Regions from separate parts of the Homo sapiens genome. Here region 2 is linked to region 1. The links are contacts of gene promoters, found by promoter capture Hi-C in human tissues and cell types (Jung and others, 2019). All regions are on one chromosome and are shown on one strand. The core of a region is centred on a gene start or on the middle of the fragment in contact, and the rest is flanking DNA. Distances in the headings are between cores, read along the strand shown.

Region 1 (6,775 bases), core at 3,915-6,414:
TTAGTATTTCGCAATATTTTACGAGACATACATATACTATTATTCATTGTTTTATCTAAACTTCAAGTTTAATTGGGCATCCTGTATTTTTATTTACTACATCTGGCAACCCTATATAGGGCTGAATGTGTAACCAATAAGATATTGCAAAAATGGGCCAGGCGCAGCCGGGCACGGTGGCTCACCCCTGCAATCCCAGCACTTTGGGAGGCCGAGGCGGGTCCATCACGAGGTCAAGAGATCAAGACCATCCTGGCCAACATGGTGAAACCCCCATCTCTACTAAAAATATAAAAATTAGCTGGGCATGGTGACGCACACCTGTAGTCCCAGCTACTCGGGAGGCTGAGGCAGAAGAATTGCTTGAACCTGGGAGGTGGAGGTTGCAGTGAGCTGAGATTGTGCCTCTGCACTCCAGCCCGGTGACAGAGCGAGACTCCATCTCAATAAATAAATAAATAAATAAAAATAAAAAATAAAGAAAATAAAAAAATGGGCCAGGCGTGGTGCCCCATGCCTGTAATCCCAGCACTTTGGGAGGCTGAGGCAGGTGGATTGCCTGAGGTCAGGAGTTCAAGACCAGCCTGACCAATATGGTGAAACCCCGTCTCTAATAAAAATACAAAAATTAGCCGGGTGTGGTGGCATGCGCCTGTAGTCCCACCTACTCAGGAGGCTGAGACAGGAGAATTGCCTGAACCTGGGAGGCAGAAGTTGCAGTGAGCCGAGATCACGCCACTGTACTACAGCCTAGGTGACAGAGCAAAACTCAGTCTCAAAAAAAAAAAAAAAAAAAGATATTGCAGAAATGACAGTGTGACTCCAAGACTAGGCCATAAAAGACCTTGTGGCTTCTGCCTTGCTCTCTCTTGCTTTGCTCATTTTGAGGGAAGCTAGCCACTATGTCATAACGACACTTGGTAACCATGTGTAGAGGCTCACATGGCAAGAAACTGAAACCTGCCAACAACCAGCACCAGTTTGCCAGCTATGTGAGAGAAGCACCTTGGAAGTTGGTCATCCAGCCCTGGTCAAGCCTTCAGATGGCTGCAACCCCATGAAAGACCCTGAGTCAGAACCACCCAGCTAAGCCACTCTCAAATTCCTACCAAAAGAAATTATGTGAGATAATGTTTACTGGTGTTGCAAGCTGCTACGTTTGGAGGTAATTGTTATACTGCAATAGATAACATGTAGGTACTCATTAATTATTTGTTAATGACAAATGAATAAATGAATGATGAAGGCTGTGGTTTCTCCCCTTACTGTGTTTTGCGGATATTTAATTTCCAGATAAACACCCCGAGCCTAAGGAACCTCATGTTCCAGCTTTCCATATAAGGATAGAGTCTTCACGAATTCTTGAAAGATAAGTAGGGTAGAAACCATCTGTAAGAAACATTTAGAGGGAAATCAAATTGCTAATCTCAGCTGATCTGGGTTCTCAATTCTGCCAAGTTAAGGACACCATATATATTTTTGGGACAAAATGCAAAATAAGAATAAGCCATGTGCAACTGTATAATGTCACTGTCCTAGAAAAAGTACATGTGCTAGTCTTTAAATATATCAGCTTTGAAATGCCACTTATGGATTGTTTCTATGGTACCAACCTATTTAAAGTTGTAACTAAGTGACGATATTTTTTTCCCGAAATCTTTTGTAGGCAATATGGAAAGTGTGCTGTATGGCATAGGCTGTAGAAATAAGAGGTTAGGAATGTGGACTCTGGGGTTATAACAAACTACCTTAGAAGGCTGAAGAATCAAAGAGATGATGTCTGCAGAGTTTGGCTCTGTGGCCCTGAACACACAGGAATCATGATGTGGGACCCCATGCATGGTTTTGCAAAGAAAGCACCTGCCTGGGAGTTTGAGCTCCTGGGTTTCAGGCCTGGCCCTGTCCTTAAACTCACTGTGTGGTGCTGGCACCTCCACTCTGCCAGGGGCTCCCCCACCGCCTCAGCTGCGAAAAGAGAGGTATAGACCCATGAGTGCTGGAGGGCCCTGCCAGACTCCTTCTGCCCAAGGAGCCTTGTTGCTTTGGCAACCCCTTCTGCGAAGGCCACATGTCTGAGCACCTCATTGGGAATGTAGAAATGAGTGTGGATGTTCCCAAATCTCAAAGCAATGTTTTTGTTTTTTTTTTTCCCCTCTAGGAAATGACAGGAGATCACGATAGATATGAGACCTTGAACCTAAAGCTCTGGTTGCCTTGTAAAACTTTTCCTTGTTTTTCAAAGGCTGGGCATTTGATCCCAGAAATCCTGAAAAACCATGGATTTTTGAGACTGAAAGGGGTATGACATTGGGTTTTTAAAAATGAAGGCTGGCGCAGTGGCTCACGCCTGTAATCCCAGCACTTTGGGAGGCCAAGGCAGGTGGATCACGAGGTCAGGAGTTCGAAACCAGCTTGGCCAACATGTTGAAACCCCATCTCTAATAAAAATACAAAAAGTAGCCAGGCGTGGTGGCGCACACCTGTAATCCCAGCTACTCAGGAGGCTGAGACAGGAGAATTGCTTGAACCCAGGAAGCATATGTTGCAGTGAGCTGAGATCGTGCCACTGCACTCCAGCCTGGGTGACACAGTGAGACTCTGTCTGGGGGAAAAAAAAATTAAAACAAATAAAAAAACAAAAATTAGCTGGGCGTGGCGGCGTAACGCCAGCTACTCGAGAGGCTGAGGCATGAGAATCACTACAGCTGCGCCTGTAATGACAGCTACTCGGGAGGCTGAGGCATGAGAATCACTTGAATCTGGGAGGTAGAGGTTGCAAATGAGCGAAGATTGTGCTGCTGCACTCTAGCCTGGGCGACAGAGTGAGACTCTGTCTCAATAAATAAATAAATAAATAAATAAGAATATAGCCACAATCCTTTAGAAAGCTCTTACCATGCCAGGAGCTTTACATGCACTAATTATCACTTTCTGTTTTTGTTTTTCTCTAAACAACTCTCTTAGATCAGTACTGTCACTATCCCCAATCTACAGATGGAAAAATTGAGGTGTAGAGAGGTGAAGCAACCTGCCCTCGGGCCCATACCTAAGAAGTAGCAAAGTCGAGATTTGGATCCTTGAAGTTTTTACTCCAGAGCTTTCATTTTAAGAAATTGCAAAAAAGTTATTAAGTACAGAGAGAAACATTTTCCCTGTAATAATTTGAAATTAAGGTGACCATTTGATGCCTTATCCCCTGCCAAATACATTGATTTACTTTCCAGCAAACAAGAACATCCTCTGATGTAACTTAACAGGCAACCATGAAAATCAGGAAATTAACACGGACACATCATTACCACGGCATTGTAGGCCCCATTTAAACTTTTCCAACTGTCCCTGTAACTTCCTTTCAAGCAAAAAGATCCAGTTCAGAATCATGTGTTGTGTTTAGTTGTCATGCCTCTTTGGTCCCCTCCAGTTTGGAACAGTTCCAGGGTCTATCTTTGATTTTCATGACCTTGGCACTTTCTAAGATTACAGTTTTGTATACAGCATGTCTCTTTACGTGGGTTTGTCTGATATATCCTCATGATTACATCCAGGTTATGGATCTTCAGCAGGAATATCACAGGGGTGATGTTGCAATCTTCTCAGGGCATCCTATCAAGTGCCACATAACTTCACTTTGTCCCATTCCTGACAATGCAGACTCTGATCACTAAATCAGAGCCTGCACTCTTAACTACTCCATGACAGTCCACAAAGGTCCCTTCTTCAGAAGCCACAAAGTGAGTTCCATTTGGTGAAGTAAATCCACTAGCATCAGTCCCTCATGATCAAAGTAATTGCAGCTCCATAAAATCTGCTGTAAAGCCATAAACATAGCTACAGAAAAGCCAAGCGTATGTATGCTTTTGGCTTTTGGGCTACAAACAGATGTAAATACATTCAGGCACAGACTAAAAACACTTTTCTCCTCTGTTTCCCTTACTCTGCTCCTGGCAGGGCTTGTAGTCTGTTAGACCCTCTCTCCCGGCCTTCAATGCTAAAACCACATTTTCCATTTCTTTCCTGAGTACATACTATGTGTCAGGCACAATGATTCTACATGTCACTAAGAATACAGAGATCATTAAGACACAGTCATCATTCCTAAGCAGCCCACATTTAACTGGGTACACAAAAATTGTTGTTTAATTCTTAACAACTACTTGATGGTAGACTTAAGTATTTGACTCCAAGTCCCGTGCTCTTTTTACATTCCAACAATTGCCTCTTGAATCTTTTCATCACATAGAGCAGAGAGAGAAAAATTAAGCAAAAATTAATAGCTAACACTTCTTCAGCACCTACTGTTACCAGGTACGGTTTTCATTGCCTACAGTTTTATCTTATTGAATCCTTAACCATTTTGCAGAAGAGAAAACAGGCTTAGATGTAATGACTTGCCCAAGGTCCACAGCTGCTAAATTGCACTCAAGGTTGGAACTCCAGAGCCTGTGGACACTTAAATGTCTACAAGGAGTCCTTGGGCTAGTGAGGGCTTCCCAGGGAGGGCCCATGACTGTTCTGCTCATTGTATCACATTGGCCTAGCACAGGTGAGGGGCACTTAGTATATTTTAATTAGATCAATGAATAAATTAATGAATTTACCAACCTGCTGGAAACGAAAAGAATGGAAACAGCTCCTGGAGAGAATACTTGGGAACTCCAGAGTTTGCCCATTCATTCCTTCATTCCCTCTTAAACTCCTGCATAAAGGCCACTGCCCTGTGCCCACGACGGTGCTTATACCGAGAGCGTCAAAGATACAGGAATCACAGTCTTGACCTTCATTATTCCCATTTGAATGCTGTGTCCCAGGCCCCTTATTGTCTCACAGTATTTACCACAACTACCGTATGGGCTAATCCTACATCTCTATTTTACAGATTTACAATCTCAGAGTGGTAAAGTCTCCTTAGGCCAAGGTGGCTCAGCGGATTCCACACCAGTCATCACAGGCTGAGCGTCACAGTACAAAGCAGGAGCGGCAGGGAGGCCGATTCCGCGGGGAAACCACTCCCCAGCTATTCTAGGCCTTGCAAATCCACCCCTCCTATCTAAGATCCCAGCCGGCCGCTCTGCAGCCATATCCGCCGTAGCGTCCCACGCTGCCCTGGCAGCCAGCAGGACATCCGCTGTCGACTAACGTCATTTCCGGCGCGCCGGCCACGGTGCTTCCGGGTTCTGGTGTAGGAGCGGCGTCTTCTCGCGCGGATGGTGAAGCTGAATTTGGTACGCTGGACCCTCGGACAGGTGAGCACGGCTGGCCACAAGGGGACTCAGCGCCAGTGAGAGTAGGGACGAAGGCTCAGGGAAGGCGAGCTTCGGTCCAAGCCGTTGGGGTGTGGGGAGGGGAATCCATTTCGTAGACAGCTCTGCCGAGGCACGGAGAGGGGCGGTGCTGCTTGGGGTCAACTGGGATTTAGGGCTTGGATTCATTTAAGAACCTGAGCTTCCTTCACCAAACCTAGACAGCAAGAGAGAGACAAGCCCGAGGCCTGACTTCTAGCACTCCTGAGTTTGAGCCCTATGAGCAGTGGAACCTAGGGTAAGTTACTAACTTCTCTGAACCTCCTTTTTCTTATCTGAAGCATGAAAACTAACGGTACCTACCTTGCAGAAGTGTCTTGATGCAGACAGTTGATAATCGGTCTCAAGCGACCAGCATGTACCTAGCATCTACTGATAAAGGCTTCATAACTTGTGACTACTCGGGGCTTATTACCATTTACTATGCCCACGCAGGCAGTGGTATTATTTAACTTTATGTATTTGAGATTCCCCGTCTTTTCTGAAAATCCTTCTGTCCTAAACACTCCTGGAAGAGGTTGGGACCCGTTGCACCCAACCGGTGCACCAGTGAGTAGAAGAAGGCAGAGATAACGTTTTGCCAGAGGTGACCAGAGTTTGACACTGCCTGTGGAAGTAGTGAACTCCGTGTGCCTTAAGGCCGCTTTCAGCAAGACAAGAATCACAATTGCTGTCACCTATGGAGTGTATTATTGTGTAGTGCACCATGCTTGGCGCTTCACGTGCATATTTAATTCTCATACACTGGGTATCTGATAGAGTTGAATTTGAACTCAGGCTTCGATTTTAGCCTGCCTGATTTTACAGTCACTTTGCTAAGTTTACTCCCTAGTCCCATAATAATAATGATGATTGTGATGGTAAATACTGAGTGTCAACTTGATTGGATTGAAGGATACGAAGTATTGATCCTGGGTGTGACTATGTGGGTGTTGCCAAAGGAGATTAACATTTGAGTCTGTGGGTGGGGAAAGGCAGACCCACCCTCAATTCAATCTGTGTGGGCATAATCTAATCAGCTGCCAGCACGGCAAGAATATAAGCAGGCAGAAAAATGTGAAAAGAGAGACTGGCCTAGCCTCCCAGCCTATATCTTTCTCCTGTGCTGGATGCTTCCTGCCCTCGAACATTGGACTTCAAGTTCTTCAGCTTTGGAACTTGACTGGCTCTCCTTGCTCCTCAGCCTGCAGACAGCCTATTGTGGGACCTTTTGATCGTGTGAGTTAATAGTTAATAAGCTCCCCTTTATATATGTATGTCTATTCCATTAGTTATGTCGCTCTAGAGAACCCTGACTAATACAATGATTAACCTAATCATGGGACTAAAGTAGAAGCTATCGTTTCTTGAGCACTTATTTTGAACTCATTGAATTTGCTTTGTAAGCCTTCTCTAAGGTTGGTATGGTAGTTAATCCCAATTTAAGAAAGACAACTGAATCTGGTCACCCAGCTACTGTGAGGTAGATTCTCTAT
Region 2 (6,693 bases), core at 1,081-3,580, 110 kb after region 1:
GATACAGACAGAGACCAGGAGAGAAACAGAAAGTGAGAAAAAGAGACAGAGAGAAAAAAACAGAGCCACATAGAAACACACACACACACACACACACACACACACACACACACACAGAGAGAGAGAGAGAAATAGACCATAAAAAAAGAGAATAGGAGAAGAAAAACACACAGAGAGAGGCAGGGATGGAACTAGAAGAGACAGAGACAGAAAGACAAAGAGACAGAGAATCAGGAGAGAGTGGCTAAGACAGGCAGGACCTCAGGTCCTCTGGGATTTAGCCAAAGGCACTGCCCACAGCTTGGCCTTCTCTTGACTTCATTCACTCATTCGACAAATATTTAAGACTGCTAGACTTGAGTGGCAACAAAGGCCTCCATTTCTCAAGCATTTTCCATGTGCCAGGCACCGTGCTAAACATTTTACCTGTATTATCTCACTTTGTTCTCACTAGTAACTATATAGAGTAGTTATTATTATTATAGATCCATTTTACAGATTGGGAAACTGACACCTCTGGCCAAAGTCCCAGGGGTATTAAGTGATAGAGCCAGGTCTGCCTGCCTAGATCTCTCACTGTGCCATTAGGCCAATCACTATTACCCTTCCTCCTTCCTCCTTCCTCCTCCTCCTCCTTCTTCTGCTTTCTTTCTTCCTCCTCTTCTTTCTCCTCTCCTCCTCCTCCTCCTTTATCTTTTTTTTTGTTTTTTTGACACAGAGTCTCACTTTGTCATTCACGCTGGAGTGCAATGGTATGATTTTGGCTCACTGCAACCTCTGCCTCCTGGGCTAAAGTAATTCTCCTGCCTCAGCCTCCCGCATAGCTGGGATTACAGGCGCCCACCACCACGCTCGGCTAACTTTTTGTATTTTTGGTGGAGATGGGTTTTTGCCATGTTGGCCAGGCTGGTCTCAAACTCCTGACCTCAGGTGATCCACCTGCCTCGGCCTCCCAAAGTGCTGGGATTACAGGCGTGAGCCACTGCTCCCAGCTCACTATTGCTCTTCTAAATGGGACAGGAGACAGAAAGTGAGGCTCAGCGGGTAGGGAAGGAGCATCTGCTTCAGGAATTCTTCTTGTGGGCAGGGAGATCACGGGGAGCTGAATTAAAACAGTAAGAAGGCTGTTCCACATAAACATAGGGTTTTTAACACAGTGGAGGGATGGGCAGAATTGGCAAGGAACAGTAAATCATGCCCCTAAAAGCACAACATGCCTGTGTCCTAGGAACACGAGGATTAGAAGAGTTCAAAAATTCACAAACTGATGACAATTAGAATATCAGGTATAAGGAGCTACAGGGTCTTGGGAATTTGTTTCTTTTTTTAACAAGGCACTAACTCACCATATCAGGTGGCTTTGCAGTGAGCACCGCTTGCTTGGTGTGTGGAGTCCTTTAGAACAGGGATTTTTAGTCTGAGGATGTGGGTGGACTCTGGTTTGTTGGGAGTCTCCTGAGTTAGGATAGAGCTTTCCTGGTTTGGTTCTCTGGAAGCCGACCCTGAGTCATGGATTCCTCTAGAAGTGGTTCATTTGGAGGTGATACCAGAATGCACCAGAAAAGGAACAGAGAAGTGAGGCTTGGAAAGGAAGAAAGCCAATAAAAGGCATGTTACTGAGCGCTGTGGACAACCGAGGCCCCGATCTCCCTGGGAACTCTGGGGACGGCGCAGAACATGCCTCAAAGGTGTCCCTCCCAAGGAAAGGGGGAGCTGGGTATTTACCCCTCAACCCCATCCCTCTTTAGCTGAGGTCCGCTTCCAGGCATATCTCTCTGGCAGTTCAAGATGCCTTATGAGCCACCAACATAGAGTATTTGATTCTTACCTGTGGGTCTTGAATCCTTACGGATCTCAGACTTATTTTTAGAAGTAGGAAAACTGTTTGTACATTACATCAATATGATAACTTTGCAGATGAAGTATAGGTGTTTTGCAAGTATGACTGAATTCTTAATAGCTCTCTGTATGTGTGAAGTTGGGGTGGGGTGGGGACACAGGATGTATTTTCTTTCTTTCTTTTTTTTTTTTTTTTTGAGACAAGATCTTGCTCTGTGGCCCAGGCTGGAGTGCAGTGGCATGATCATGGCCCACTGCAGGCTTGACCTCCTGGGCTAGGGAGATCCTCCTGCCTCAGCCTCCCAAGCAGCTGAGACCACAGGTGCACACCACCACACTTGGCTAATTTTTAAATTATGTATACAGATGGGGTCTCCCTATGTTGCCCAGGCTGGTCTCAAACTCCCAAACTCAAGGGATCCTCCTGCCTTAGCTTTCCAAAGTGCTGGGATTACAGGTAGGGGCCACAACGCCTGGCCGATAGGATGTATTTTCTTAATTACTTGAAATACAAATAGTGTTCTATTACCAAGACCTCTTTTAATTTCAAGGGACAGAAACCCAACTCAAACTGGCTTCATCCCAAAGAGAATGTTTGGTTCATATGATTACAAAGGTGAGAGGTGGGTGGGTCTCACTTTCAGTCCAGCTGAATCTAGAAACTCCAACAACATCACCAGGGATCTGTCTTTTTCTCTTTCTAGGCTCTGTTTTACTTTCTCTTGTTTTCATTTGCAGTCATGATTGCCCTGCGCGGCAATAAAATGGCTGCCAATGGATCCAGGCACACCTCCTAGAGGCCTGGGAGCTCCTGCCAAAAGAGCCAGTCGGTTTCCCATTGGCCAGTTTGGACCACGTGACTTTCTCTGAGCTACCGTGGAATCTTTGATTGCCCAGGCTGTGGTTAGGTCCTCATGGTGTCAGGAAGGAGGATCAGTTCCACTTAAGCCTGTAGCCCCAGAGCCCCTCTCTCTTTCCTCAAAGGAAAAATTGAGGAACTGTTACCATGAGAAGAGGGCCTGGATTTCCATTATAACCGACATATGGAGTCCCTGAAGTGAAAAAGGGACCCTTCTTTTGGAAAATGTTGAGTTCTAGGCCAAAATGTACCAGGGTCTTTCTAGAGAGACATGCAATTGTTTGGCCATGGTGTATGGTTGCTCTTTCATCATTTGATGAAATCCTTTTGATTATATAACCTCTCAGAAAATTCTCCAGTAGAAAATAGTTGAAAGAAAGGAAGGAAGGACTATGGGGAGGGAAACTGGGGAAGCAGAGCAGAGCGAGGCTTCAGATAGTCACTGGAGAGGAGGGCCAGGTGGAAGCCATCTTCCTCCAGATGGGATCCTGGAGTATTGAAGGTCAGGTCCAGACTGATAAGAAAAGATGACTTCTAGAGCCACTAGTAAAGCCTCTCGAGACAAAAAAGCACACCCTCCTGCTGATTGTCCTTCATAGTCTTTTTAGCTTTCGATGGAACAAACTGTGCTGTGATAAACAACCTTGTATAAAAATCCTGACCCAAGGTGTTGAGCATTTCTGTGGGATCCGTGGAATAAATTAGGATGCAGCACACTCTGGCCCATAACTCAGCTTTAGAGCTCTGTGTAATGACCTGGAGAGATGTCCATTCGAGATATGTTCTTTCTCCCTGAATCTATGTTGAGAGAGATACACATAAAGATATAGATATATCAAGGGCGGGGGCATGGGGGAAGCAAAGCACATAATAACTTCTTTTGAGGAAAACAAAGTCTCTTATATGTATCCTTATGAGCAAAGAGAATGATGTGGAAGGAACTATACCAAAGAGTACTGGAAACATTGATGTTTCAAAGATGTGGGACGACAGGGGTTGAGAAAGGTTATTAGCTTGCTTACTAGGCCTGTGTGTTGCTTGAATCCTATAATCGCATGTGACCTTTTTCTTTCTGTCTGTTTTTTTTTTTTTTAATTGAGACATAGTCTCTTTCTGTCGCCCAGGTGGTGCAATCTCGGCTCACTGCAACCTCCTCCTCCCGGGTTCAAGTGATTCTCCTGCCTCAGCCTCCTGAGCAGAGTAGCTGGGACTAAAGCCATGGACCACCATGCCTGGCTAATTTTTGTATTTTTAGTAGAGATGGGGTTTCACCATGTTGGCCAGGCTAGTCTCGAACTCCTGACCCCCCTCAAGCAATCTGCCCACCTCAGCCTCTTAAAGTGTTGGGATTATATGCGTGAGCCACCATGCCCGGCCACATGTGACATTTTAAAGCATGTATATATTTCACATGCCATGAAACAAAATGTGAAAAGGAAAAAAAAATTACTGTATTTGTTAACGGCCCCCCAATATTAAACTCTACGGATATCTACTTGCCCCTACCCCTGCCTTCTTAGAAGGAAGGACACCAAGGAGGGTCCTGCAGGTTGGTGGATGGGGAACTGAAAAGGCAGACCTTGCTTGTATGTGTCTATGTATGAATTTATTCAGCCTGAGATTTTATTAGTAAAGGAAGTCCTCTCAAGCAGTTTCACCTGGCACAAAAGTTGTGAGATTCACGACGTTGGAAAATTTGCAAATCAAATGGTTCATTTAGTATGATACTGTACTTGCTAGTGGGATTATGTTGATTATGCACTATGAATAGCATATTTTATTTTTCTTTCTTTTTAAAAAATTGGTTGTGGCAAGAACACTTAACATGAGATCTCAACTTTTAACAGATTAATTTTTTTTTTTTTTTTTATTAGACAGAGTCTCGCTTTGTCGCCCAGGCTGGAATGCAGTGGTGTGATAATAGCTTACTGTAACTTCAGACTCCTGGGCTCAAGGGATCCTGCTGCCTCAGCCTTTCCAGTAGCTAGGACTACAAGCATGCACCATCACACTAAGCTAAGTTTTTAATTTTTTTGTGAAGACAGGGTCTTGCCATGTTGCCCAGGCAGGTCTCAAACTCCTGACCTCAAGCAATCCTCCGACCTTGGCCTCCCAAAGTGCTAGGATTACTGGCGTGAACCACTGCACCTGGCCCCGAACAGATTTTTAAGTGTACAACATAGCATTGCAGAACTTGTTCATCTTATGCATTATTTTTATATAAGAAGGGTGTGGTGGTATGGTTGCTAGAGAAAATGCAGGATCCCAGTTAAATTTGAATTTCAGATAAACAACACTTTTTTTTTAAGTATAAATATGTCCCAAATATTGCACTTTCCCATTGGCCCAGCTTGGCTCATGTGACCATCTCTCCACTAATCATGGAACCTCTGATTGGCCAGACCATGGTCAGGTGTCCCACAGTCAGAACTGTATTATTAATACTACAGATTTATTTAATTTTCAAATTTAATTGGGTGTCTTGCATTTTTATTTTGTACATTTGGTAACCCTACGTGGAAGAAAGTCAGATGGGTAGGGGGTGGGAGAATTCCTGAGTTTGGGGAAGGAGAGAGATTCAAGTAGGTTCCCAGGAATGTGAGACTCTTGGGGACAGAAATGGGTACAGAGGATTTTATGGAAGTTTTTCTGTGTGATGTGCCTGGTAATATACTTCCCACTCAGTCCCTTCTAGAGAACATCAGTACAAGTTAGAATCTTTGAAAGTCTTTTGTGTGGTTCTCTGGTTGGGGGCAGCATTGTATGAGCCCTGGGTCCAAAGCCACCCCATTTTTTATCTGTAACACGCAGCCTGGGCAAGAATGAGTAACAATGATGCTGGTTTCTTTTACTGCCAAGAATGAAGGGCAGCCTGCTAATTCTCCAAATCATATTTTGTTTTACCAGAAAGAATCCATTTCATCAGTTATCTTTGTCCAAAGAAAATAACCATTGTGAGGAAACAGAAGTGTGATTCAGTTTCTGTAGGATGCTCAAGGCCTTCCTTGAGAATCCCATGCTGAGGATGCCATCTGGTGGTTTAAAGGGACCCAGCTTGCCAGTGACACCGGCCCGGCTTTGGGCTTCTCTATTGGCTGATAGTCATTTCTTCACCAAATATTTGAGTGCCTACTCTGTGCTGGGCACTGTGGTAGCGCCACCAACAATAGTATTAGTGACATAGTTTTAGAATGATGCAGGCATACCTTGTTTCATTGGGCTTTGCTTTATTGCACTTTGCAGAGACTGATTTTTTTACAGATTGAAGTTTTGTAGCAACCCTGCATGGAACAAGTCTACTGATGCCAGTTTCCCAACAGCATGTGCTTACTTTATGTCTCTGTGTCATGTTTTGTTAGTTCTCACAATATTTCAACTTTTTAATTATTGTTATGTCTATTACAGTGATCTATGATGGGAGATCTTTGATGTTACTACTGTAACTGTTTTGGGGTGTCATGAACTGCACCCATAGAAGATGGCAAACTTATTCCATAAATGCTGTGTGTGTTCTGATTGCTGCACAGACTGGCTGTTTCACCATCTCTCTTCCAATCTTTGGGCCTCTCTGTTCCTTAAGACACAACAATATTGAAGTTAGGCCAATTAATAATCCTGCAATGGCCTCTAAGTGTTCAAGTGAAAGGAAGAGTTGCCATCTCTCACTTTGAATCAAGAGGTAGAAATGATTAAGCTTAGTGAAGTAGGTACATTGGAAGCCAAGACTGGCCTTTTGCTAGGCCTCTTTTGCAACTTAGCCAAGTTGTGAATGGAAAGGAAAAGTTATTAAAGAAAATTAAAAAGTGCCACTCCAGTGAAAACACAAATGAAAAGAAAGCAGAATAGGCTTATTGTTGATATGGAGAAAGTTTAAAGGTCTGGATAGAAGATGAAACCAGCCACCACATCTCCTTAAGCCAAAGCCTAATTAAGAGCAAGGCCCTATCTCTCTTCAATTCTGTGAAGGCTGAGAGAGATGAGGAAGCTGCAGAAGA

What was found. The method cuts DNA at HindIII sites, captures the fragments that hold promoters and counts their contacts. A contact is called where the count stands out against the background at its distance.
Region 2: a fragment that was not itself captured here is called in contact with the fragment with the promoter of TFIP11 in region 1 in 2 of the 25 tissues and cell types used here (mesendoderm cells and thymus).

The regions. Positions count from the first base shown.
Region 1 is chr22:26,510,862-26,517,636 of GRCh38, reverse strand. TFIP11 (tuftelin interacting protein 11) reads left to right here and starts at 5,164. Exons shown (of 15, transcript NM_012143.4): 1 at 5,164-5,243; 2 at 5,462-5,538. TFIP11-DT (TFIP11 divergent transcript) reads right to left here and starts at 5,105. Exons shown (of 2, transcript NR_144529.1): 1 at 4,603-5,105; 2 at 3,069-4,225. RefSeq lists enhancers at 4,342-4,879, 5,102-5,281. The HindIII fragment of the contact is 22,947 bases long and covers 1-6,775 here.
Region 2 is chr22:26,397,883-26,404,575 of GRCh38, reverse strand. No RefSeq gene overlaps it. Among named protein-coding and RNA genes, the nearest start is that of ASPHD2, 28 kb to the left of the region's middle. The HindIII fragment of the contact is 8,682 bases long and covers 1-6,671 here.